7 separate regions of the Homo sapiens genome follow, and regions 1, 2, 3, 4, 6 and 7 are each linked to region 5. The links are contacts of gene promoters, found by promoter capture Hi-C in blood cells and fetal thymus (Javierre and others, 2016). All regions are on one chromosome and are shown on one strand. Each heading gives the region's core, a stretch centred on a gene start or on the middle of the fragment in contact. The rest is flanking DNA. Distances are from core to core; before and after follow the strand shown.

Evidence for each region. Contacts are between HindIII fragments. The CHiCAGO score rates a contact against its expected background, and 5 or more counts as called.
Region 1: a fragment that was not itself captured here is called in contact with the fragment with the promoter of CDK4 in region 5 in 1 of 17 cell types (monocytes); the score reaches 13.5 in monocytes.
Region 2: a fragment that was not itself captured here is called in contact with the fragment with the promoter of CDK4 in region 5 in 1 of 17 cell types (non-activated CD4 T cells); the score reaches 5.1 in non-activated CD4 T cells.
Region 3: a contact is called between a fragment that was not itself captured here and the fragment with the promoter of CDK4 in region 5, in 2 of 17 cell types (monocytes and non-activated CD4 T cells). The highest score is 9.0, in monocytes.
Region 4: a contact is called between a fragment that was not itself captured here and the fragment with the promoter of CDK4 in region 5, in 3 of 17 cell types (total CD8 T cells, fetal thymus and non-activated CD4 T cells). The highest score is 8.0, in total CD8 T cells.
Region 6: a contact is called between a fragment that was not itself captured here and the fragment with the promoter of CDK4 in region 5, in 2 of 17 cell types (monocytes and non-activated CD4 T cells). The highest score is 6.7, in monocytes.
Region 7: the fragment with the promoter of RNF41 here is called in contact with the fragment with the promoter of CDK4 in region 5 in 1 of 17 cell types (M0 macrophages); the score reaches 5.8 in M0 macrophages.

What each region holds. Positions count from the first base shown.
Region 1 is chr12:56,101,683-56,104,757 of GRCh38, reverse strand. ERBB3 (erb-b2 receptor tyrosine kinase 3) reads right to left here. Exons shown (of 28, transcript NM_001982.4): 28 at 1,253-3,075. The coding sequence ends at 2,703. LOC105369782 (a long non-coding RNA gene) reads left to right here and starts at 339. Exons shown (of 2, transcript XR_944995.4): 1 at 339-470; 2 at 840-944. It overlaps PA2G4 (proliferation-associated 2G4), which reads right to left and starts at 199. Exons shown (of 13, transcript NM_006191.3): 1 at 1-199. The coding sequence starts at 20. RefSeq lists enhancers at 1-144, 155-504. The HindIII fragment of the contact is 842 bases long and covers 1,405-2,246 here.
Region 2 is chr12:56,719,682-56,722,743 of GRCh38, reverse strand. It overlaps NACA (nascent polypeptide associated complex subunit alpha), which reads left to right. Exons shown (of 9, transcript NM_001365896.1): 3 at 1,285-3,062. Among named protein-coding and RNA genes, the nearest start is that of NACA, 4.1 kb to the left of the region's middle. RefSeq lists an enhancer at 1,809-1,928. The HindIII fragment of the contact is 4,291 bases long and covers 1-3,062 here.
Region 3 is chr12:56,316,207-56,319,486 of GRCh38, reverse strand. PAN2 (poly(A) specific ribonuclease subunit PAN2) reads left to right here. Exons shown (of 26, transcript NM_014871.6): 23 at 1-179; 24 at 306-399; 25 at 1,053-1,250; 26 at 1,844-2,551. The coding sequence ends at 1,878. It also overlaps a transcript of CNPY2 not described here. Among named protein-coding and RNA genes, the nearest start is that of CNPY2, 1.9 kb to the right of the region's middle. RefSeq lists enhancers at 3,146-3,280, 2,926-3,280. The HindIII fragment of the contact is 2,294 bases long and covers 104-2,397 here.
Region 4 is chr12:56,627,238-56,630,795 of GRCh38, reverse strand. BAZ2A (bromodomain adjacent to zinc finger domain 2A) reads left to right here and starts at 470. Exons shown (of 29, transcript NM_001300905.2): 1 at 470-671. RefSeq lists enhancers at 164-233, 264-313, 3,092-3,558 and a silencer at 534-883. The HindIII fragment of the contact is 526 bases long and covers 1,714-2,239 here.
Region 5 is chr12:57,751,060-57,754,148 of GRCh38, reverse strand. CDK4 (cyclin dependent kinase 4) reads left to right here and starts at 1,839. Exons shown (of 8, transcript NM_000075.4): 1 at 1,839-1,974; 2 at 2,413-2,649; 3 at 2,807-2,942; 4 at 3,059-3,089. The coding sequence starts at 2,432. RefSeq lists silencers at 1,390-1,509, 1,740-1,819, 2,550-2,689 and an enhancer at 1,480-2,213. The HindIII fragment of the contact is 8,675 bases long and covers 1-3,089 here.
Region 6 is chr12:56,121,655-56,125,126 of GRCh38, reverse strand. ZC3H10 (zinc finger CCCH-type containing 10) reads right to left here. Exons shown (of 3, transcript NM_032786.3): 3 at 1-3,472. The coding sequence ends at 3,260. Among named protein-coding and RNA genes, the nearest start is that of ESYT1, 4.9 kb to the left of the region's middle. RefSeq lists an enhancer at 2,975-3,472. The HindIII fragment of the contact is 713 bases long and covers 1,728-2,440 here.
Region 7 is chr12:56,220,178-56,223,590 of GRCh38, reverse strand. RNF41 (ring finger protein 41) reads left to right here and starts at 1,669. Exons shown (of 7, transcript NM_005785.4): 1 at 1,669-1,831. It also overlaps a transcript of NABP2 not described here. RefSeq lists enhancers at 132-426, 1-776, 1,258-1,477, 777-1,711, 1,698-1,747. The HindIII fragment of the contact is 1,612 bases long and covers 1,178-2,789 here.

The sequences.
Region 1 (3,075 bases), core at 576-3,075, 1.6 Mb after region 5:
TGCTCGTCCTCGCCCGACATCTTCCTACTACCACCACTGCAGCCTCGTTTCCCCTGAGCCGCCGCCGCCTCTGTCTCCCTTCCCAGCCACAGGCTGTGGTCAGAGTCCCCTCGATCCTCGAGGAGAGGGCGAGCGAAAGCGCGAGCAAGCAAGGGAGCGGGCAGGCAGGCGAGAGCGAGAAGCTGCGAGCGCGCGGGCTGAGGCGCAGGGCACGCTGGGACAACTAGTCCTCTCGGCCGCCAGACTCTAGCCGCTCTCGAGGGCCTTCGAACTACAATTCCCAGCCTGCCTCTCGCGCTCCTAAGCCAGGCCCTGGGGCCTTGCCCTCCAAGGGCCTCGCACGCCGGAATCGCCGGGCACTCTGGGAAGGGTCAGGCTCCGGCGGGAAGGCGGAGCCGTTGGGGAGCTTGAGGGGAAGCGTGGTCTCTCCCGGAAAAACCACTTCCACCGAGAACGCTGAGCGAGAGCCAGTAACAGAGAGGGGCGGGCTGAGGGGAGAGGGGCGGAGCTACGGCGGGGAAATAGGTTTAAAGTCGAGCGGGCAGGGGTGGAGTAGAGTGGAGCCGCAGCGGGTGGGCAGTGTCTACACCTAGGTCGGGGAGGCTGGGTGCGCCCTTCTTCGGATCCCTGGGTCGGCTGGCGAAACCCGCCCAGCCGGTCCAGTCGTCCTCCGAAGCTGGGAGAACAGGGAGGGGCAGACAGGTGGAAGAAGACCAAGGGTGCTGGTAACGGGGGCTAACTGGGCAGCCAGACACCGGAGGGATCATCCATTTAAAGGCCTCGCAATCTAGAGGCCGGACTCCTAATGAAGTAACATGACTTTATTGTTCCAATAACAGGCACCTGGATGGAGCACCTAAGGGAAGTGTTCAGAAAGACATGTTTGTTGAGAGTTCTTACCGTGAAAAAATAAAAAGATTTGATGACTTTTCTAAGATAATGAATTCAGAAGCATCTGGAGGTTTCAGTGTTTGGCCTCTGAAGGAGGGCTTATAGGGCTTTTTATAAGTCCTAAAGCACGTAGGTTCTTTTTGTTATTCCCAATTGGTTGCCTTGTAGATTCCTACTAAAACCCTTAATGAAAAGGACTATGCGCTATGGTTGTTCTAAAGAAATAGAAGTAATAGTAGGACTAGAGAAAGCTGCATGGGACAGAGTAGCACTGTCAGAACACAGAAAGGTGAGTATCCACTGCTGAGGAGCAGATCTCTTATCTAACATACGAAATGTCTTCATTTGACAGACAGGAAGCTGAAAAAAAACTTTGGCATTTTTATTCAGACACGTATAAAAACAAAACAAAAAACTTCAGTGATACAACAGACGTTTTCCCTTAGTTCCCCATCCAAGGGGACAGAGGTGTGCAGCTGAAGCTGGATCTTTTTTCTGTCCTACCTGGAAGCTTCTCACTGCTGGATGAGAATGGCTTCTAAAAGTGGATCTTGGGGATCCTTGTGAATTTGCCCTCGGATAAGGAGTGAAGATCATTTACGGCACATGTGGATTATGGTTTACACAAAGATGTCCAGTTATTTTTCCTTCTGACTACCCCCACCACCACTTCCTGAGATGAGATGTCTAGGTATAGGAGGATGTGGCTGTTGGGGTTAGACTTGATTCAGTGCAAAAACAAGAAACAGTGCCCCTTAAACAAGGGCTGTAACTTAAATCAGTTTTTCTTGGCACCTTACAATAAGAGCACATGCACAGGAATTGGGAGGATTTTGCATCCTGGATCTACTGCTTAATTTATTTCATCTCTTTAAGGCTCAGTTTCTTTTTTTTTTTTCCCCTGTAGAGACAGTGTCTTGCTATGTTTCCATAGGCTTATCTCTAATTCTGGGCTCAAGTGATCTTCCCATCTCAGCCTCCCAAAGTGCTGGCTGGGATTACAGGCATGAGCCACTGCACCCAGTTCTAAAGTTTTTTTTTTTTTTTTTTTTTTTTTTTTAAAGAGATGGGGGTCTTACTATGTTGGCTAAGCTGGTCTCAAACTCCTTGCCTCAGGTAATCCTTCTGCCTCAGCCTCCCAAAGTGCTGAGATTACAGGCATGAGCCACCATGCCCGACTTCCCTTTGTGTAAAATGAGATAATATGTATGTCACAGAATTGTTTTAAGGATGATAAAGGACTAAGTGAGATAATGTAGGTGAAGTTTAGTATGATGCCTGGCTCATAGTTAAGTGCTGAATTATGATAGTAATCAATATCTACTCCTAACCTCTTTCTTCACAGATTTTAAGCTTCTGTCTTTCTAGGGGGTTAAGAGTCATAAACCAAAATTACACTTTCCTCTGCTAGGTTTCCTCCCTTTCCTCTTCTTGACAGTCTGATGGGAAACAAAGGCACACATAAGAGCCTAGTTCCAAGTAGTCAAGAGCCTGAGAGGAAGGGATATGGAGAGTAATCCTTCATATCTCCAGGAGTGCCTGTGAAGAAGCTGAGGAATGGGACTGGGAAAGCACACAAAATAAGGAAAACCTTTCCTGGGGTTGGGAAAGAGAAGAAAGTGCACAGCTGGCTACATACCATAAGAATTTTGTGTCAAAATGTTTAAAAGCCTCCAAAGATTGAATGGAATTGTCTGGGACTGGGGAAAAGGGGCTGGGACCTGGGAGAGAGAGGGAATAGGGAGAAGACGGTACCCTCTAAAGGCACTAGCTGCCATTAAATGCTCCCTGAGTGCCACAGGGAGCAGGAGTTACGTTCTCTGGGCATTAGCCTTGGGGAAAAGCCTGCTATGCCAGTAATCAGGGTTATCAAAGGCAGAGTCTGTAGCCTCTAAGCTACGTAGAGTTTTTAGGCGGGCATAATGGACATGGGGGGCCTGATGTCCAGGCCCCTGAAAAGCTCTCATCTCTTCATACCCTTGCTCAGATGCTGGGCAGGCCCCCATGGCTGCATAATCACCCCCAGGACCACCTCCATCTCGTTGCCGATTCATATATTCATAGTCTTCATCTGGAGTTGTGCCTGCAGTGGGCATGATGGGTACAGGGTGGAGTGGGCAACTCTGTGTGCTGCCCAGAGAGGCACTGAGGTCTGACCCCACATCCATGTACTCATAACCCAGC
Region 2 (3,062 bases), core at 319-2,818, 1.0 Mb after region 5:
GATCCAGTGTATTCTCGCCACTCCAATTGTCTTCTTTGGTTTGTTTTGTTTTGAGACGGAGTCTCACCCTGTCACCCAGGCTGGAGTGCATGCAGTAGCGCGATCTTGGCTCACTGCAACCTCCACCTCCTGGGTTCAAGCCATTCTCCTGCCTCTGCCTCCTGAGTAGCTGGTATTACAGGTGTACACCACCACGCCCAGCTAATTTTTGTATTTTTAGTAGAGACGGGGTTTCACCATGTTGGTCAGGTCGGTCTGGAACTCCTGACCTCGTGATCCGCCCTCCCAGGCATCCCGAAGTGCTGGGATTACAGGCATGAGCCACTGTTACAGGCTCTCCAATTCTCTTCTTCCAAAATAGCACCACAATCTGGTTTAACAAGTTAGGTTACAGTTTCATAATACAGTCCCTACCCTTGTGAGTAAGCTCTCTGCCTGGAGGTCTAATTCATGTCTAATTCATCTTGGATTGATGTCTGAAGAATTAACATCACCTAGGAAGGTTTATAGAGACTATTACAGTCCTTTTGTGGTTGGTTTTCTTGTTTGGGTTTTGTGAGTAAGTAAACTGGTAAGGTATAAAGAAGCTAAGTGACTTTAATACTTGATATTAAATTCTGAAGTGTTTCAACTTTAGGAAGAACTGAATTGTGCTGTGCACCTCCTTCCCAAAACTATTCTAACAGAGTCAGATGTTTCCTAGCCTAGTGGAAGCCTGAAAGTATAAAAGCCTGTGTTTTCTTATTCAGTTCAGATTCCCCATCATCGTCACTGCTCACTAACTTCTTTGTTCCAGTTTTCAGTATCTTTTCTGTTCATGATATTTGGGTGGACAGAGTAGCACAGCTGTTCTTCTCGTGGGAATTCTGTTGGCTGTGAGAAAGACTTGGGAATACAGTCCATTTCAAGAAGTAAGGGGAGGGCACAACTGGGAAAGGATAGAAAGCATGTTGTTCTCAACCTACCAAGAGTCTGTGCTCCCCATTTAGAGATAGGCTGCTCTTAGACTGTTCTCCTCACCCTAAAATAGTTGGTTTACTTTGGTAGAACTTGGGGAAGTGTGAGAAATTAGGAGGGGAATGTCTTCTCACTTGACCACTGAAAAATGTTTGGGGAAGGTTGTTGTTGCCTGTCACCTTTATCTAATCCTGCGTGGTGACTTAGACTGTCAGATTTTAAACTCCAGTGTTTCCTAGGAGGCATGTTGTACCAAGTTGGGCTGCATAACTCACCTTTTTTCTCCTCCCCCTCCCCCTTTCTTTATCTCCTTTTGCCTTTCTCCAGCTGTGCTACCTATGTCTTCAGCCTTGAGTGTCACTGCTGCCTTAGGGCAGCCTGGACCTACCCTCCCCCCTCCTTGCTCTCCTGCCCCACAACAGTGCCCTCTCTCAGCTGCTAACCAGGCTTCCCCATTCCCTTCCCCCTCTACTATTGCCTCGACCCCTTTAGAAGTTCCTTTTCCCCAGTCATCCTCTGGAACAGCCCTACCTTTGGGAACTGCCCCTGAAGCCCCAACCTTCCTACCAAACCTAATAGGGCCTCCCATCTCCCCAGCTGCCTTAGCTCTAGCCTCTCCCATGATAGCTCCAACTCTGAAAGGGACCCCTTCCTCTTCAGCTCCCTTAGCTCTGGTTGCCCTGGCTCCCCACTCAGTTCAGAAGAGTTCTGCTTTTCCACCTAACCTTCTTACTTCACCTCCTTCAGTGGCTGTAGCTGAGTCAGGGTCAGTGATAACTCTGTCAGCTCCCATTGCTCCCTCAGAACCAAAGACTAATCTTAATAAAGTTCCCTCTGAGGTAGTCCCTAATCCAAAAGGCACCCCCAGCCCTCCATGTATAGTCAGTACTGTTCCTTACCACTGTGTGACTCCCATGGCCTCTATTCAATCTGGAGTGGCCTCCCTTCCTCAGACAACACCCACAACTACCCTAGCCATCGCTTCCCCTCAAGTCAAAGATACCACCATTTCCTCAGTTCTGATTTCTCCACAAAACCCAGGAAGCCTCAGCCTGAAGGGGCCTGTTAGTCCACCTGCTGCCTTATCTCTTTCAACTCAGTCTCTTCCTGTGGTGACCTCTTCTCAAAAGACTGCGGGTCCCAACACCCCCCCAGATTTTCCCATTTCTCTGGGCTCTCATCTTGCACCTTTACATCAGAGTTCTTTTGGTTCTGTCCAACTTTTAGGTCAAACAGGTCCTAGTGCTTTGTCAGACCCTACAGTGAAGACCATTTCTGTAGATCATTCTTCCACAGGGGCCTCTTATCCTTCTCAGAGATCTGTAATTCCTCCCCTTCCTTCCAGAAATGAGGTAGTTCCTGCTACTGTGGCTGCCTTTCCAGTGGTGGCTCCATCTGTTGACAAAGGTCCCTCTACCATCTCTAGCATAACCTGCAGCCCTTCTGGCTCCTTAAATGTAGCTACCTCTTTTTCATTATCTCCTACAACCTCTCTCATTCTCAAAAGCTCTCCTAATGCCACTTATCATTATCCTTTAGTGGCCCAAATGCCCGTTTCTTCTGTTGGAACCACCCCACTTGTGGTGACTAACCCCTGTACAATTGCTGCAGCACCTACTACTACCTTTGAGGTAGCTACTTGTGTTTCTCCTCCAATGTCATCAGGTCCCATAAGTAACATAGAACCAACTTCCCCTGCTGCCTTGGTTATGGCACCTGTGGCTCCCAAAGAGCCTTCTACTCAAGTAGCAACCACTCTGAGGATACCAGTCTCTCCTCCTCTGCCAGACCCTGAAGACCTCAAAAATCTCCCCAGTTCAGTATTGGTTAAATTTCCAACACAAAAAGACCTCCAAACTGTACCTGCCTCTCTTGAAGGAGCCCCTTTCTCTCCAGCCCAAGCAGGACTCACCACCAAGAAAGACCCTACTGTATTACCGTTAGTCCAGGCAGCCCCTAAAAATTCCCCTTCTTTCCAAAGTACATCCTCTTCTCCAGAGATACCTCTTTCTCCTGAAGCCACCCTAGCAAAGAAAAGCCTTGGGGAGCCTCTCCCTATAGGTAAGCCAGCCAGCAGTATGACCTCCCCTCTGGGTGTTAACTCC
Region 3 (3,280 bases), core at 1-2,500, 1.4 Mb after region 5:
TGGTGGATTACTTGACTCAATACTCGGGTATAAAGCCTGGTGACCTCGATGCCAAAATTTCCTCCAAGCACCTAACAACTCTCAAGTCTACCTACTTAAAGCTTCGTTTTCTCATTGACATTGGAGTCAAGTTTGTGGGTCATGGCCTGCAGAAGGACTTCCGGGTCATCAACCTGATGGTTTGGCAGGGCTCTTTTAAGAGTCTTCTTGTGAGAGTGGGCCCCTCAGGGTATACATTGTGCCTTTAGAGAATGGGGAATTATAGGTCCCCTACCTTAAGTCTCCCCCTCTTTTATCCTTGCCAGGTGCCCAAGGACCAAGTCCTTGACACTGTCTACCTGTTCCATATGCCCCGAAAACGAATGATTTCCCTGCGATTCCTTGCTTGGTACTTTCTGGGTGAGTTGCTCTGCCTTGTAGGCCCCTGCTACATTAATAGCAGAAGCAGCCATTTAAAAAAAAAGAAATCATGTTCTTTGCGGCAACATGGATGGAGCTGTGGGCCATCATACTAAGTGAACTAACTCAGAAACAGAAAATCAAATACCACATATTCTCACTTATAAGTTGGAACTAAACAATGAGTACATATGGACATAAGAATGACATTAGGGACTCTAAAAGTTGGGGTGGTGGGTGAGGGGTGAGGGTTGAAAATTACGTATTGGGTGCATAGTTCACTATTTGCATATTAGGGATACCAGAAGCCCAGTCCCCACCAGTACACGATACACCCATGTAACAAACATGCACATGTACCCCAAATCTAAAATAAAATTTAAATATAAAAAATAAAAGCATGGGGGGAAAAGAAAAAGTAGGAAAAGTGTTAGAGGACAAAATGGGAGTAGGGGAGACCCTCAGTTAGTGGTGACAGTTACTAATGGATTTAATTAACTTCAATATCCCTTCTGTGCACTGAGGAAGATGTCTGACAATTTTCCTTAAGGGCAGTCAGGCTTTTTAGTTTTCTGGAGTCAGGTAGGAGTGGGGAGACATGTTCCTACCTCCCTTTGCTGGGTCCCAAACTATTCCACCTTTACTTACCCCAGACCTGAAGATTCAAGGGGAAACCCATGACAGTATTGAGGATGCCCGCACAGCCCTTCAGCTGTACCGAAAGTATCTGGAGCTAAGCAAAAATGGCACTGAGCCTGAGTCTTTCCACAAGGTGCTCAAGGGTCTTTATGAGAAGGGCAGAAAGATGGACTGGAAGGTGCCTGAGCCTGAGGGCCAAACAAGTCCCAAGAGTAAGACCTGGGATGGGACAAGGGAAACTGGACTGGGTGGATTTTGTATTTTGTTTGTTTGTGACAGGGTCTCACTCTGTCACCCAGGCTGAAGTGCAGTAGCGTGATTACAGCTCACTGCAGCCTCGACTTCCTGGGCTCAAGTGATTCTCCCACCTCAGCCTCCCAAGTACCTGGGACAACAGGCACACACCACCACACCCAGCTAATTTTTGTACTTTTTGTAGAAACAGGATTTTGCCATGTTGCCCAGGCTGGTCTTAAACTCCTGGGCTCAAGCGATCCACCCACCTTGGGCTCACAAAGTGCTGGGATTACAGGCATGAGCCTGAGCGCCCCCAATTGGGTGGATTTTGATTGCACATATGGAGAATAGCACTTAACAGTTTACAAAGCACTTCATCCTCCTAACATTCAGTAAAATACATTTTATCGAAACTCTCCATTAACTATAACTTCCTCTTGCCCAAGTCTAAAATGTTCAGGGAAGGTCCATGCCCTTTTTTCTCTTGCATTTTTCCTTCATAGGAAGTATGAGAAGATGCTTTTTCTCCACTCAGCTTGAATCATGCTTTTGGTTTTGTCTCTGACAGATGCAGCTGTCTTCTCCTCAGTGCTGGCGCTCTGACTACCCTTCCCAAAGAACCACGGCCCTCTCCCTTTACTGTTCTATAGCCCCAGAACTGGGAGATGGCTTCCTAAGTTGGCTATACCTTGTCCACTTCCAGTACTGGACGTGCTCAGGGTCTAGGGTCACAGATGGTGCTATTAATTGAACTGGAACACAGCAGAATTGTTGCAAAGGTTCTAGGAGCCAGATTCATTCCTTCTTCATTCTTTGCAAAACAGTGGTACAGACATGGAGTCTAGAATTGACCCAGATGGAAAGTAATTGGTATTCTTAATATCCTGGGTGACTAATATCCAGGCAGAGAAGCTCCTGGAACCATAACTGTAAGTTCCTAGCTGGCTAGGGATTGAAGTCCTGGACAGTGACAGAGGATACCACAGTAGTTCAAGACTTAGCACAAGTCACCAACTGCTTCAGGGATACCTGGAGGGGCCAGCAAGTAGAGTGTTGGTGGCCCAAGCAAACCAGTGTTGCCAATACCATTGCCAAAAGGGCCTTTGGATCCTGGACAAAGCTTGGCTGCCGGCTTCATTTATTCCTGCTGATGGCTGAGAAGCATCTGTCTTCCATCCCACTTGCCTGTCCCAAGTTTTGTTCCATTTTTTAAAAATTTGTTGTAAACTGCATGTTTTATAAAATAAAAATAAAATATCGTTTGTTATTTATCTCATTAGAGAACTGCTAGTGTGGGTTCTCTGGCTTCAGTCTTCCTCTCCTTCCTTTGAAGGTAAAGGTCCGGAATCCAAAGTTATGGATATGAAAGGGTATAATTAGGCCGGGCGCGGTGGCTCACTTCTGTAATCCTAGCACTTTGGGAGGCAGAGGTGGGTGGAACACGAGGTCAGGAGTTAAAGACCAGCCTGACCAAGATGGTGAAACCCCGTCTCTACTAAAAATACAAAAATTAGCTGGGAGTGGTGGATGGCGACTGTAACCCTAGCTGAGGCAGAAAATTGCTTCAACCCGGGAGGCGGAGGTTGCAGTGAGCCGAGATCACGCCACTGTATGCCAGCCTGGGCGATAGGGCGAGACTCCGTCTCAAAAAAAGGGGAAAAAGGTATAATTTATGCCTTTTCTGGGCAATGCTGGGTCTTTGCTATAGCTGCCCAGTACCCTAAGTCAGACTGAAGATGTACAGTATGGTTTCCGTTAATTGTGTAAGCCGACAAACTACAGGTCCCAGGATAGCTTGAGACTTGTAGTTGCTCACAAAGATGGGTCCGGTGCTGCGGTGCTTCCTGGGAGATGTAGTTTCCTGTGTATTGAAACCTGGACTGCTCGCTGGCCGGCAGCGCACCGTTTTGAAGGTCCTAGCCCACCTGGGCTGGCTCACGCGCACGACTAGCCGCTCCCATACAGCACGCCCGGACTCTGTCGTCGCTTAAGGCCACTCCTATTC
Region 4 (3,558 bases), core at 727-3,226, 1.1 Mb after region 5:
GCTGCACTGAAGGGACAGAGGTGAGTGGGTGGCTGACTCTTGCCTCTCCCCATCCCTTTACTGAATCGCGACCTGAGTGACTAACCTTTCTATTTCCACGTTTCCATTACCCTACCTGGGAAATAACTGCCCCCGAAATTCCCCTGACTCTTACCCCTACCAGCCTGTTAGAGAAGTGGCACCTGCCTTTGGGCCTAGACGTTTGGTCTAGTCTTTTAAGTTAACCTTGGGACTGTGGCATGCCTTTCAGTTTGCCCTGTGTGAAGCAGGACCACTGCCTCCATGAGATGCGGGTGCAGAGGGAGCTGCCAGGTGGGCAAGGTGGCCAGAGTTGCAGGAGGCACAGCGGCGCTAGGACCCAGGTCCGGGTCGGAAAGATGGGCTGGCGGGCTTTAGGACCCTGTGGCGGAGGCCGCGTGGGGAGACTCTCTCCCGGCCGAGGCTTCTCCGCCCCCTCCGGCTCCGACTCACTCCTCCCCCGCCGGCCATGTTGGCTCCTCTCGGGCCCCGCGGTTGAGCCGCGTCCCCCTCCCCCTTCCCGAACCCCGGACCCCAGACCCCCTCCCCAGCGGGCGTCTCCACCCGTTCTGGCGCCCGGAGCGCGGCCATGTGAACCGCTTGTACCCCGGGGAGAGACGAGCCCCGAGCCCGGCTGGACGCCGCTGCCTCAGGTTTGTGGGGTCTGTGGCCAGGGGCCTGAGGGGGAGGGAGCCCCGCTTTCATCCGAGGCTTCCCTCGGGGAACAGAAGCTCCAGAGCCGGCTTGAGCCTTGCCGGGGCGGGAAGCCGACGGGAGCTTATTTCCTGCGAGGATCCAACCCGAGGCGAGGGTCTCCTTGCTCTGGGGTCTGGGAGGAGAACAGGGCTGGTGGGGCTGCTGAGGACCCCGGACGGGGCCGCGGGGGCAGGAGGAGCTGTAGGGGCTCCCGGCGACAGTGAGGAGGCGGAGAAGCCGCCTGGCTGGTGGAGATGACTCCTGTGGGGGACTTGGGGTGGAATCCCCGGGAGGGGCTCCACCTCCTCGGGTGGGGGTGGGGATTGCCTGAGCGCGAGGGGTGGGTGAGGGGGTTCCCTTGGCGGGTTAAAACGCTCCGTTTGCGGGGAGCTGGGCGTTTTGACTGTGGTGAGTGGAGGGCGGAAGGGGTTTCCAGGGGTCTGAGGGTGTCTCCCTCGGGGAGCGCACCCATTCTCTTGAGCGTGAAGATCAGGAGAGGGCCTTCCTTGCTGAGGGTGGTGCTGCGCTTGGCTTGGGGCCCTCGCGTCCCGGGAGAATCGCGCACTCCGGGGATGGAGGTTGATAGGGCTTCCGCTGAGGCTTTCCAATTTGAGCTGGGCTGAGGGGCAGAAGGGAAGAATAAAGAGGAATTCCTTTTTCCAAGGAGATTCCTCACTGAGGGGATCCCCGCTTCCGTGGCAGAAAGATGATACCGCATCATCCCTTTCTTTCCCGGTGTTCCCAGTTTTCAGGAGAAGGCAATGTCAATAGCAGTTGTCCTTTGTAGGGTTAATTGGAGTGAGAGATTTGTCTGCTTTGGGGGACGACGGAGGGGATAGCTTTCCACCTCTATCTGTACACAAACAGCCCCTCCCCCAGCCTCCCGCAGGAAGTGGCCGGGAAATGGCAGCTGTGCGTTTGCTGCTGCGTGTCTTGTTGTTTTGAAATGTCCATTTTAATCAGATTTGGTTTCATTTTCTGAAGCCTTCTGGGCAAGCTTGGATCTTGCCAACCATGTGGCCCGAGAGACCTTTCGTTGGACTTTTTTTTTTTTTGTAAACTTGTCAACTGGAAGTAGTCAACTTCAGTTGACTCACGTATCCCAATCCCTTCTCCAGAACATCTCTGTCTTCCTGTCTGGTTTCGTTTTGTTTTCCCTTTAGCTAGAGGTCATAGAGAAGCAAACTCAGTTATCTACCAGCGGGGTACGCTCTATGTAAGTGATGCAAATTCCCTCAGCATAGAGAGCTGTCAGGGAGACTAGAGAGCTTTTGTGGCACGAGTAGCTTCTTGGGGTCCTACTTTAGTATAGTTATTATGACAGTTTCTATATTGCAGAGCACCTGAGCAAGTGAGCTTGTGAAGAAGGGTAGATTCTAAGAAATGGACGAAGAGGAAGGGGTGAGGAAGATTTAACTATTAGATGGATTTGTGTGTCGGGGGTAGGGACTGATTAACAGACTGAGATTGGTGAACTCAGTCCTTGGTGGTGATTCTAGCCTAAGGGCAGCCCCTGTGGGAAGCTTGTTATTTGACTAAGGGGTGCTGGAGATACTACCTTCTGCAGAATCAACTAATTAGAATAGTACAGTTTGTTATCATATGACTTACTCTTTAATCCATAAAAGAACGTCTCCCCTCTTATTCTTCTTGGAGATTGGTAAGCTTTTCCTCTGTTCCCTGCAAAGTCGTGCCCAGATTTTTTTTTTCTTTCTTTTCACTTGATAATCCCAGGATATTTCTCCTGTAACATATAGTGATGGACTGTGTGCTATGTCCCCAGGCATTTTGTGGCACACTGGATTTGGTTAGGGGCAACAGTTGGCCACAGAATTTTATTTTTCTTTCTTTTCTTTTTCTTTTCTTTTTTTTTCTTTCTGTCTTTTTTTTTTTTTTTTTTTTTTGAGACGGAGTTTTGCTTTTGTCGCCCAGGCTGGAGTGGTGTGATCTTGTCTCACTGCAACCTCTGCCTCCCGGGTTCAAGCGAGTTGCCTGTCTCAGCCTCCCGAGTAGCTGGGATTACAGGAGCCCGCCACCGCATCCAGCTAATTATTTTATTTTTAGTAGAGACGGCGTTTCATCATGTTGGCCAGGCTGGTCTCGAATTCCTGACCTCAGGTGATCTACCCACCTCGGCCTCCCAAAGTGCAGGGATTACAGGTGTGAGCCACCATGCCTGGTCTTCTCTTCTTTTCTTTTTTTTCTCTTCTCTCTCTCTTTTCTTTTCTCTTTCTTTCTTTCTTTTTTTTTTTTTTTGAGACAGGGTCTCACTCCGATGCCCAGGCTGGAGTGCAGTGGCGCCATCATAGCTCACTGCAGCCCCGACCTCTTTGGCTCAAGTGATCCTCCCACCTCAGCCCCCTGAGTAGCTGGGACCACAGACACGCACCACCACATCCAGCTAATTTTTTGTAATTTTTGTAGAGGTGGGGTTTTGCCAGTTTGCACAGGCTGGTCTTGAACTCCTGGGCTCAAGTGACCTGCCTGCCTTAGCCTCCCAAAGTACTGAGATTACAGGCATGAGCCACCATGCCCGGCCTATGACCCCAGGACCACAGGATTTTAGATTTTGAAAGATAAAGTTTTGTTTTTTTCTTTTTCTTTTTTTTTTTTTTTGAGATGGAGTCTCGCTCTGTTGCCCAGGCTGGAGTACGGTGGCACCATCTGGACTCACTGCAACCCTCGCCTCCCAGGTTCAAGCGATCCTCCTGCCTCAGCCCTCCAGTAGCTGGAATTACAGGCATGCGCCACCATGCCTGGCTAATTTTTGTATTTTTAGTAGAGAAGGGGTTTCACCATGTTGGTCAGGCTGGTCTCGAACTCGAATTGAGCCTCCCAAAGTGC
Region 5 (3,089 bases), core at 590-3,089:
TGAATCAGAAAAAGGGGCTGGGACCCAAGCAGACAGAGAGGACGTCTTCTGTTGCAAAGACAGTAAGCTGTGAAGGTCTTATGTGGAAGGTGAGGCTGAAGTGGGGAATGCTGGTGTGGGAAGGGAGTTTGAAAAACTCACAGACAATTATCTTAGCCTTCCAGAAGGCTTACAAAGCACCCACCCCTAGCAAGGTAGCCAATAAAACATTCACCTCTTGAGCCCCTTAGTCAGTTCAGTCCTTGAGGTTTTTCTTACTAGTGTTCCAGCTGCCCTTGCCAGGAGGGGCCCAGGGCTACAAGTATCAGGATGGAAAGAGGAGGCATCTGTATTAATATGTATTCTATTTTGCTCTAAGTCATGGTTTATATTCATCTTCTAGTTTGAACTCTTATATTCTCAGCCAGATGGTTAAGGAAAACAGAAGTTAGAGTGGAAGGAGTGGCAAATAGGGTAATAAAATGGCTTTAGATTTTAGACAAATTCTCACAAATGAGACACTAACCGCTTTCCTCCTTTACTCCCATACCCCCAAAGGGCTGGGAGATAAAGACCTTGGAGCCAATAAAACAAAGTAGGAGAAATCTACTTGTGTCTACCTAGGTGTCTGGGCAGAGGCCATTTGGGAACAAGTGTGTTCTGGACAGTGCTAAGTGCTAAGAAAGCGGCACTAGGGAAAAAGAGGGAAGCACAATAACTCCAAATGAGTAGTCACAAGGTTTGCAGAAGGGGGCATGTCATTTTCATTCATTGTGGTGGTCTGGAGGGTGCAGGGGGTGTGGTGGTAACTTTCTTGCACATGTGCAATCCTGTATCCGTCTTATATATGATGTGATAAATAATATCATATACATACATATATACATAGAAGCATATATGCACACATACAAATATCACATAATCATAGAACCTTCCTACTGGAAAAAAAAAAAAAACTTAAAAGGTCAAGTATTCCTGTCTCCTGCTCATCAATAACTTCTCTGCCAGATGGCCTCAGGTCTTTGCATTAACACTCCCAGGGAGGTTTGGAAGTTGGAAAAGTGAGAGGATTACCTTGTCACTGAGCCTGTTGGATTACTGTATTAATCTGCCTTCCGTCATCCTTTAATCGTAGTTTTGCCCTCAAATGGGCATTGTTTACTCCCTATTGTAGAAGACCCCATTGTTGGCTACATCTTTATAGATAGTCGTACCACTACTTTAAAGGGCCAGTGACAGACACCAAAAACAAAATAAAAACCCACATACACACTGGAAGCAAGCACTCAGTAAAATGTTGTAGAATTAATGAATGAAACAATGACACAAATGAGAGTATGTTTTCTCATGGTGGAGCGAAAAGGTGACAGCATCACCTCTGGTACCCCAACTCCCACCCCCTCCCCAATGCAGACAGGCTGAAAGACCGGTAGTGAGACTGGAGTTCAGCCTTCAGACCGGTAGTGAGACAATCCTTCAGCCGGGAGTTGGGCTCTGGGTGGCCTAGGTTGCCATGGCACCGCCTCGGGCTCCACCCTCTCTTGTCCCCCTCACCGCTCCCCCCCTGCAGCGGGGGTTGTGGCAGCCAGTCACGTGCCCGCCGCGTAGCCACACCTCTGCTCCTCAGAGCAATGTCAAGCGGTCACGTGTGATAGCAACAGATCACGTGGCTGCCATCGCCCCTCCGCCCCCTTACACTCTTCGCCCTCCTCCCAGTCGAAGCACCTCCTGTCCGCCCCTCAGCGCATGGGTGGCGGTCACGTGCCCAGAACGTCCGGCGTTCGCCCCGCCCTCCCAGTTTCCGCGCGCCTCTTTGGCAGCTGGTCACATGGTGAGGGTGGGGGTGAGGGGGCCTCTCTAGCTTGCGGCCTGTGTCTATGGTCGGGCCCTCTGCGTCCAGCTGCTCCGGACCGAGCTCGGGTGTATGGGGCCGTAGGAACCGGCTCCGGGGCCCCGATAACGGGCCGCCCCCACAGCACCCCGGGCTGGCGTGAGGTAAGTGCAGTCCCTTCCCAGGAATGAGAACCAGTGCCCGCCCCCCTCACAGCTTTCCACGCGTTCGTTTCGCGAGCTGGTTATGGAAGGGTCGCTCAAGGGCGGGAAGTGGGGCCTTTGTGGTCATGGGAAAGTATAATTTTAGGGACTGAGGTGTAGGATCTTCGATGCAAGGCATGTGTCATGTGTGATCTTTGTGCGGGGCGCGATTGTCCCAAAGGAAAAAGCGTTTTCTATTGCAGGGCCTCACGTGGCTGGAGGGGTTGGTATTGAGTCATTGTGTTATCTCTGGGGCCGGCCCCAAGGAAGACTGGGAGCGGGGGATGGGATGCTGGTGGTGTTCTTTGCGCTTTTTTTTTGGGAGTCCCTTTGTTGCTGCAGGCTCATACCATCCTAACTCTGTAAGCGACTTTTGGTGATAGGAGTCTGTGATTGTAGGGTCTCCCTTGATCTGAGAATGGCTACCTCTCGATATGAGCCAGTGGCTGAAATTGGTGTCGGTGCCTATGGGACAGTGTACAAGGCCCGTGATCCCCACAGTGGCCACTTTGTGGCCCTCAAGAGTGTGAGAGTCCCCAATGGAGGAGGAGGTGGAGGAGGCCTTCCCATCAGCACAGTTCGTGAGGTGGCTTTACTGAGGCGACTGGAGGCTTTTGAGCATCCCAATGTTGTCCGGTGAGAAGGTGGTGGAGGGTTGGGCGTGGGGAGTAAAGGGAAAAGACAGCCTATAGGTGGGGTGTGATGATCTGTAGAGAAGTGGGGACCCTGAGGAAATAATGAGAGGCCATGTTGGGTTAAAGGGGATTGAAAAGTGAGCATTTACTCTGGTCAGGCTGATGGACGTCTGTGCCACATCCCGAACTGACCGGGAGATCAAGGTAACCCTGGTGTTTGAGCATGTAGACCAGGACCTAAGGACATATCTGGACAAGGCACCCCCACCAGGCTTGCCAGCCGAAACGATCAAGGTGAGTGGGGTTGGTAGGCATTGAGAGGTGGATTGGGACCTTTGTAGTAGAACCTTCTGGGATTTCAGGTATGGTGCCTAGTTTCCAGTGCATCTGTACCTCCCCTTTGAAACTAGGATCTGATGCGCCAGTTTCTAAGAGGCCTAG
Region 6 (3,472 bases), core at 835-3,334, 1.6 Mb after region 5:
TTGCCAGCCTTTTTTTTCTAGCAACACACTGGTTTGTCAATGGCCCTCTTTAAAAATTACATTTAGAACAACACACTACTAAGTGGTTACACTTAGGCAGAACATAGAACTGCTGTATTTGTAATCTATTACCAAGGTTCTACTACCCTTATGGAGCTCCTAGAAAGATGCCTAGAACATAGCAGGCTCTTAATAAATATTTATAAATGGACATCTTGAGGGCTAAGATTCTATTTTTTTGCAGCCAACTGGAAGTCCCAGTTTGTTCTCATGTGAATTATTGCTAATATAAATCTCTAACATTGTTCCTCAAACTAGTTCAAGATCTAAGCAATTTTTTAGTGTGAGAGTGCTCCAGTGTTTTAGTCAATTCAAGTTACAGACACTTTGAATATTATTTAGCTCTTCCTGTGTTACTGTTGATAAATGGGTTTTTTACATGTTTACCCGAGTTGGGTTTTTTCTTTTTACAATAAAACATAGCCCTTGGGCTTATCACTAGAGAACAGAGATTTCTCTAACATAAATGCGCTAACCAACACTAAGTACAAGTGTTCAGTTTGATTCTACCAAATGCTACTATTTTTTTCTCATTATTTTTTAACCAGAGCCATTTGCATGGAAAAAATGCTACGATTAACTGACCCGTAATTTTCCTCTTATCTGTGATGACTTAGCAGGTGAGAGAGAGGAAAGTAGCTCCTGTAATCTGGGAACTGGCCTGACACAGCCAGGCTTCAGAGCTGTTAGGGCTGACCTGGTGCTCACAGGTAGCCAATGAGTTCTCTTGGACACAAACAATCTCACAAAACACCAGCATCAGACAAGGTCACTCAGTGACTGCGATGAAGTGAGACAAAAAACAAAATCACTACACAATTTTGTTTAAGCACAAAACAAGGTCAGTGTGCAAACCACAAAACAGCAAACATCCCCTTTCCCAGCTAGTGAGTGACTTCATCATCGACTGTGCTTAGGTTCACTTGTCTGCCCTTCTTCTAGACAAGCTACCCAATTATCCTGGATTCCCTTAACAGCACCCAATCCAAAAGAACACCCACTTTCTTGAATCTTCCCCAAAATCACTTAACCAAAGTCTAAGTTCTCTAAGTCGTTCCTAACACCCTCATGCTGAGACACACCACGTTATCCCCAATGGTGAGCCCTCCCCCTCACTGCAATGAGCATTAAACCCAACTTGCTCAATTACCAGGTGTATTCTTGGTGGTCTTCAGCTGGAGTAAATACATACAAGACATACAATGTCTAAAATTTCCCAAATCTACCTCTTTGGAGATAACCTGGCAAGGAGGAAATAAAGTCAGTCAGGATTTGACTGAGAATTCATGTTGGTATCTATGGTTACATTCTTCTCTAAATGCTCTTAAACCATCTCTTTTAATAGTCTAGAATTGCCGGGCACGGTGGTTCATGCCTGTAATCCCAGCACTTTGGGAGGCTGAGGCGGGCGGATCACGAGAGATAGAGACCATTCTGGCCAACACGATGAAACCCCGTCTCTACTAAAAATAAAAAAATTAGCCGGGCGTGGTGGCGGGCGCCTGTAGTCTCAGCTACTCGGGAGGCTGACGCAAGAGAATCGCTTGAACCCAGGAGGCGCAGGTTACAGTGAACCGAGATTGCGCCACTGCACTCCGGTCTGGTGACTGGGCAAGACTCCATCTCAAAAAAAAAAAAAAAAATTGTGTCCCAAAAAACATTAAGCTTATCAATGTGTTGTTTCTAAAATCCACAATGTTAGCCCACTTTTAGTCTTTAGGCTTTTTTTTTTAATGACTGGCCTTGACCTAGCCCACCATCTCCAATCCCAGATGTGACCTGAGTGATCAACCAGACAAGAAAGCAAGAGGTAGCAGGAGACATGATGAGGGGGAACACAATCCAGGATCACTCTCTACCCCCAAATCTACTGTCCCATTAGACTAGACACCTGAGTTGTTTTCCCTACATCAGCCGTGAGCTGAGGAGGAACTGAGGTTTGACTATTGGGGCCCCTGGCCTTACTGACTTAAGTAGATTTAAAACTTCTGGTCCTATGTGGAGACAGAGGAAAGGGATGGACCCTGAGGCTTGTGTCCCTAGAAGGACTCTCTTTTCCCAGACCTCCCAAGCCTTGAAGGCTTCAGGAACTGGCCACTGAAGGGGTGGGGTAGGAGGGACATTAACTGCCATCAACTGAGCGGCAACTGCCATCAACTCAATGGCCATCAACTCCACCTGTCCTGCTCTGTTTGAATAAGGATCTGTCAACTATGTAACATCCCATCCGCATTTCAGCAAATACACTCTCCTTACTGCCTGCCCTGCTAAATGACCCTAGGAGCCCTGGTTACTGAGGCAACCTGGGAATAGCACATACAGACAGAGACCAGAAACAGATGGGACTATTTTTAAAACTAGACTGGGTGGCTCCAAAGCTTTTACCCCATAAAGTGCCTTCCCCAAAGCCCCATTTGGTCTTGTTCTGGGTCCCTACCCTTCTTCACTGGCTTCTATCCATCTTACCAAAGCTATGTGAGGCTGGGGTCTTTATCCCATTTTGGCATGAGATCTATTTACTGCTCCCATCTTCCACACAGAATAGCTAAGCAAGTTTTCACTGCCTCCATTTGTTAAAAATAATTGTTCTTTTATTTCTTTGGAAAGTAGTGGGCCCTGCCCTATGGATTTTCAGGTCAAACTAGGGTAATGAATGCTCCCCTAGTCTTTGGGCTGGAGCACTATGGTCCCAGCTTTCCCAGGGCCCAGAAGCAATTCCTGTATTGTCCAACCCAAGCAACTAGGACCCAAATTGTCTGAAGGCTCCTATCAGGCCTTCTCTCCTGACCACCCACTTCCCAATCTTTCCTGGCTTTCCCTCTGGGCAGGGTATTTTTTTCTTCTAAAACCAGTGCTGGAACCTGTGCTGTGCAGAAGAGAGGACAAGACGAGGGATGTTCCCAAATTCCCATAAGAGGACACAGCCCCTCAGTCAGTCCTTCCTCTCTGCTGGCTTCAGTCTGCACTCCTCTGCAAGCCCCCACTGTGAGGCTTGAAGATGGACAAGAGGACCCTCATAAAAGGGAGGTGAGAGAAAACACACCATCCCAACCCCTCCTCAGGACATACTCCTTGTAGTCTCTTGTCCTAGTTCTCAAGGGAGCCCTTCAGACAGGGATGGGGAAGGCTAGGTGAGTGGGCAAGGGCCCCCTGACCCCAGCCCTGCGAGGCTATACCAGGGGAGTGTCCATTAGCCCCATCAGTGTGGCATGGCCGTGATGCGCATGCTCTGGGAAGCGATAGGGTAAGTCACCATGGGAGTGGTGGTGTGGCTCATTGTGATTCCTGCCAAGGGTTGGGCCATCGATACAGCCACAGGGGCCACAGGAGCCACAGATACAGCCACAGGAGCCATGGAGACAGGTGGAGGTGCCATTCCCTGGGCAATTGTTTGAGCCAGGGCAGCTGACAG
Region 7 (3,413 bases), core at 420-2,919, 1.5 Mb after region 5:
ATGGAACCTGCGACAAAGAGAGAAACATTGTTAGTCCCTTTTTTTTTTTTTTTTGAAACAGGGTCTCGCTGTGTAACCCAGGCTGGAGTGTAGTGGTGCAATCTTGGCTTACTGCAACCTCCCACCACAGCCTCCGTAGTAGCTGGTACTACAGGTTCGCACTACCACCCTCGGCTAATTTCTGTATTTTTTTTGTAGAGACAGTTTCGCCATGTTTCCCAGGCTGGTCTCGGACTCATGACCTCAAGGGATCCGCCCACCTCGTCCTCCCAAAGTGCTAGGATTACAGGCGTGAGCCGCTGCACCTGGCCATACTACTCTTCCCCGCCCCGCCCCACCGCTCCACCCCGGCAAAGGAGTCTTGCTCTGTCGCCCAGGTTGGAGTGCAGTGGCGCGATCTCGGCTCACTGCAATGCAACCTCTGCCTCCCGGGTTCAAGCGATTCTCCTGTCTCAGCCTCCCGAGTAGCTGGGATTACAGGCGCCCGCCACCACGCCCGGCTACTTTTTTTGTATTTTTAGTAGAGACGGGGTTTCACCACGTTGGCCAGCCTGGGCTCAAACTCCTGACCTCGTGATCCACCAGCCTCGGTCTCCCAAAGTGTTGGGATTAAAGGCATGAACCACCGCGCCCGGCCATACTACTCTTATCTTACTTATCTCAGAGTCCCGCTAGAAGACAGCAGAAAGGAGGCCTGAAACTTTAGTTCCTTTTGGGACCTGTCAAATTGTCCACAAAAGGTAGCTAGCTCTGTATTGTTGTGTATAAACAAATTACATAAAGATATGTGTGTATGTGTGTATTAATGTGCATTAGCATTTGCTTAGCCAATGTCCACAATAAATACCATACTATTTAATACCAGATTAGTCTAGGAAGTCATGTGATTGTAATGCCTTGGTTTGCTTAATTAATCCCTTATCTGCTCACGGAGCTCTTTAGGCTCCACATTGACTTCCCTTGGATCCCACGTTCTCTACCGCCCACATCCCCAACACCACGGTGTTGTAAGCTAAGGAAATCAAACCCCAACTCAGGAAGAGGGAAATTTTTTCTCCCTTCCTTCCTCTTAGGTGTTTCAGGGAACTCCACAAGTGTTCGGGGAGCCATCGTGGATACGGCAGGAGAGCGCCTGGGAGAGAGGCAGACAACCCGTTGAGCACCCCAGATCTAAGCTTTGCGGTCAGACTCCCTCACTCCCCACCCCGCGGCCGCCTTGTTAACTGCAATATCCATTCCCATGACAGGAGTCAAGGGGTTACGAAGCTCTGGGATGCTGACCAGGGCTCTGGAAAAGGGAGAGGGGCCGGACCCGCAGCAGGTCACGCTGCAGGCCTGCCTCTCCGCAATGATCTCGCAACAATCTGCGTCAGCTCTAAGACACAAGTCACCTGCACCCCTCCAAAGCGAAGCGTGGCCGGCCAGGCCCACACGTTTTTGCCGGGAAGAACATAGAGTTCTCCCTCCTAAATGGCTACATAGTCCTGGCTGGGACCATATAGACTCTAGACTAGACTTCCTGTCTAGAGTGGAGGCCTGGCCAGCCTTCGTCCCTCCTCGTAGGCAGCTCCTGGCTGCTGGTGTAGGGGCTGAGTTAAACAAAGAGGCGGGGTTTGGTGACGAGCTTCCGCCGGGTTGCGTAGCAGCGGTGGGCGGGGCAAAGGATCCGTCTGAGGCGGCGACGAGTGGTAGGAGTCTTCTTTCCCCTCCTTCCCCTTTCCCTTCCCTTCCCGGGAGAGGCTGGGACCCGGCACCAGGGCAGTACTGTGGCCGCTGCGGCCTCAGCTCCGACTGGGTCAGGTTGCGGAGACTCCAGGCCGCTTCCAGGGCGGTGCGTACTGCGCCTGCGCGATCTTCCACCTAAAAGAGGGTGTGGGAGGGGAGGAGGTGATGTCCCAGGGGTATTGGGGCGGGGGGTTGAAATAACTGGGGTTCAGGAGGAGGGATGGTGGTAGAGATAAAAATGTGAGAAGGGAGCAGCACTGGCGAGGAGTCGGGAGGTGAGAAGGGGGCTCTGGAGAACGGGTTGTTGGGGAAGGTCCATTGGAATAGGGGAGCTTTGAGAAGTGCGGGAGGGGGCCGGGGCTAGCTGGAGGACCGGCACCTGCAGAACTGGGGGAACAGCGTGGTGTTTAAATGGGCAATGATTGACGGGCCAGAAGGGGAGGAAGGGAGCATTCCGGGGGCCAGCCTGGGCAGGGGCGGTGGAACCTAAACCCCCGCCCTCGAAGCGCCATAGCTTGGCTCCTCTCCCATGCCTTGTCGTTGGCAGCCTTGTCCTCTCATTCCTTCCCCGCTCCTCACCCCCTCCCAGCCCTCCATGAAGGAATCTCACATTCTTCACATCCCTGCGCTTGGTTTGCAGCCTGGCTCTCTGGCAGGGTTCACACACCACACACTGGAAGGCCTTCCCTAACTCAGGACTTTGGGAAATTGGGTAGTGGGGAGGAGGGGGCTAGAGGAAGAGCAGAAAGCCAGGAGGGGTGAAGGCGTTTTGCTTGAGGGATTGACAGACTGCTTCCCCGTTCAGAAACTTCATTTCATTTAATAGCAAGTGGGGCTGTTATTGAGGCCACTGTTCTTGGGGACTGGCCCGTGATAGTGTTATCCCTTTCTATACAGGGGTTTTAGAGTCTGACAATAGGGCAAGAGACTGATAGTGTTGTTGGCTGATAGTTTTGCCCCAAATAAGAATGTAGTGGACTAGTGGTAGGGAATGTGAGTGATGCAATGTTAAGCCGACCGACCTGTGGCTAGCCCTGCCTTCTAGTAAAAAGAAGGAACAAGCTTTTGTCAAGCATTTCCTCTCCGACTCTCAGTACTCTAAATTTATTTTGCATTCTTGTTTTTTTTTTTTTTTGAAACGGAGTCTCACTCTGTCACCCACGCTGGAGTGCAGTGGCACAATCTCGGCTCAGTGCCACCTCTTTCTGGGTTCAAGCGATTCTCCTGCCTCAGCCTCTTGAATAGCTGGGATTACAGGTACCTGCCACCATGCCTGGCTAATTTTTTGTATTTTTAGTTGAGATGGGGTTTCACCATGTTGGCCAGGCTGGTCTCAAACCTCTGACTGTAGCCGGGCGCGGTGGCTCACGCCTGTAATCCTAGCACTTTGGGAGGACGAGGCGGGCGGATTGCCTGAGCTCAAAAGTTCGAGACCAGCCTGGGCAACACAGTGAAACCCCGTCTCTACTAAAAATATAAAAAATTAGCCGGGGCATGGCTGCATGCACCTGTAGTCCCAGCTACTTGGGAAGCTGAGGCAGGAGAATTGCTTGAACCCAGGAGGCAGAGGTTGCAGTGAGCTGAGATTCCACCACTGAACTCCAACCTGGGCAACAGAGTGAGACTCTGTCTCCCCACACCCCCCGCCAAAAAAAACAAAACAAAACCCTGACCTCAGGTGATTGGTC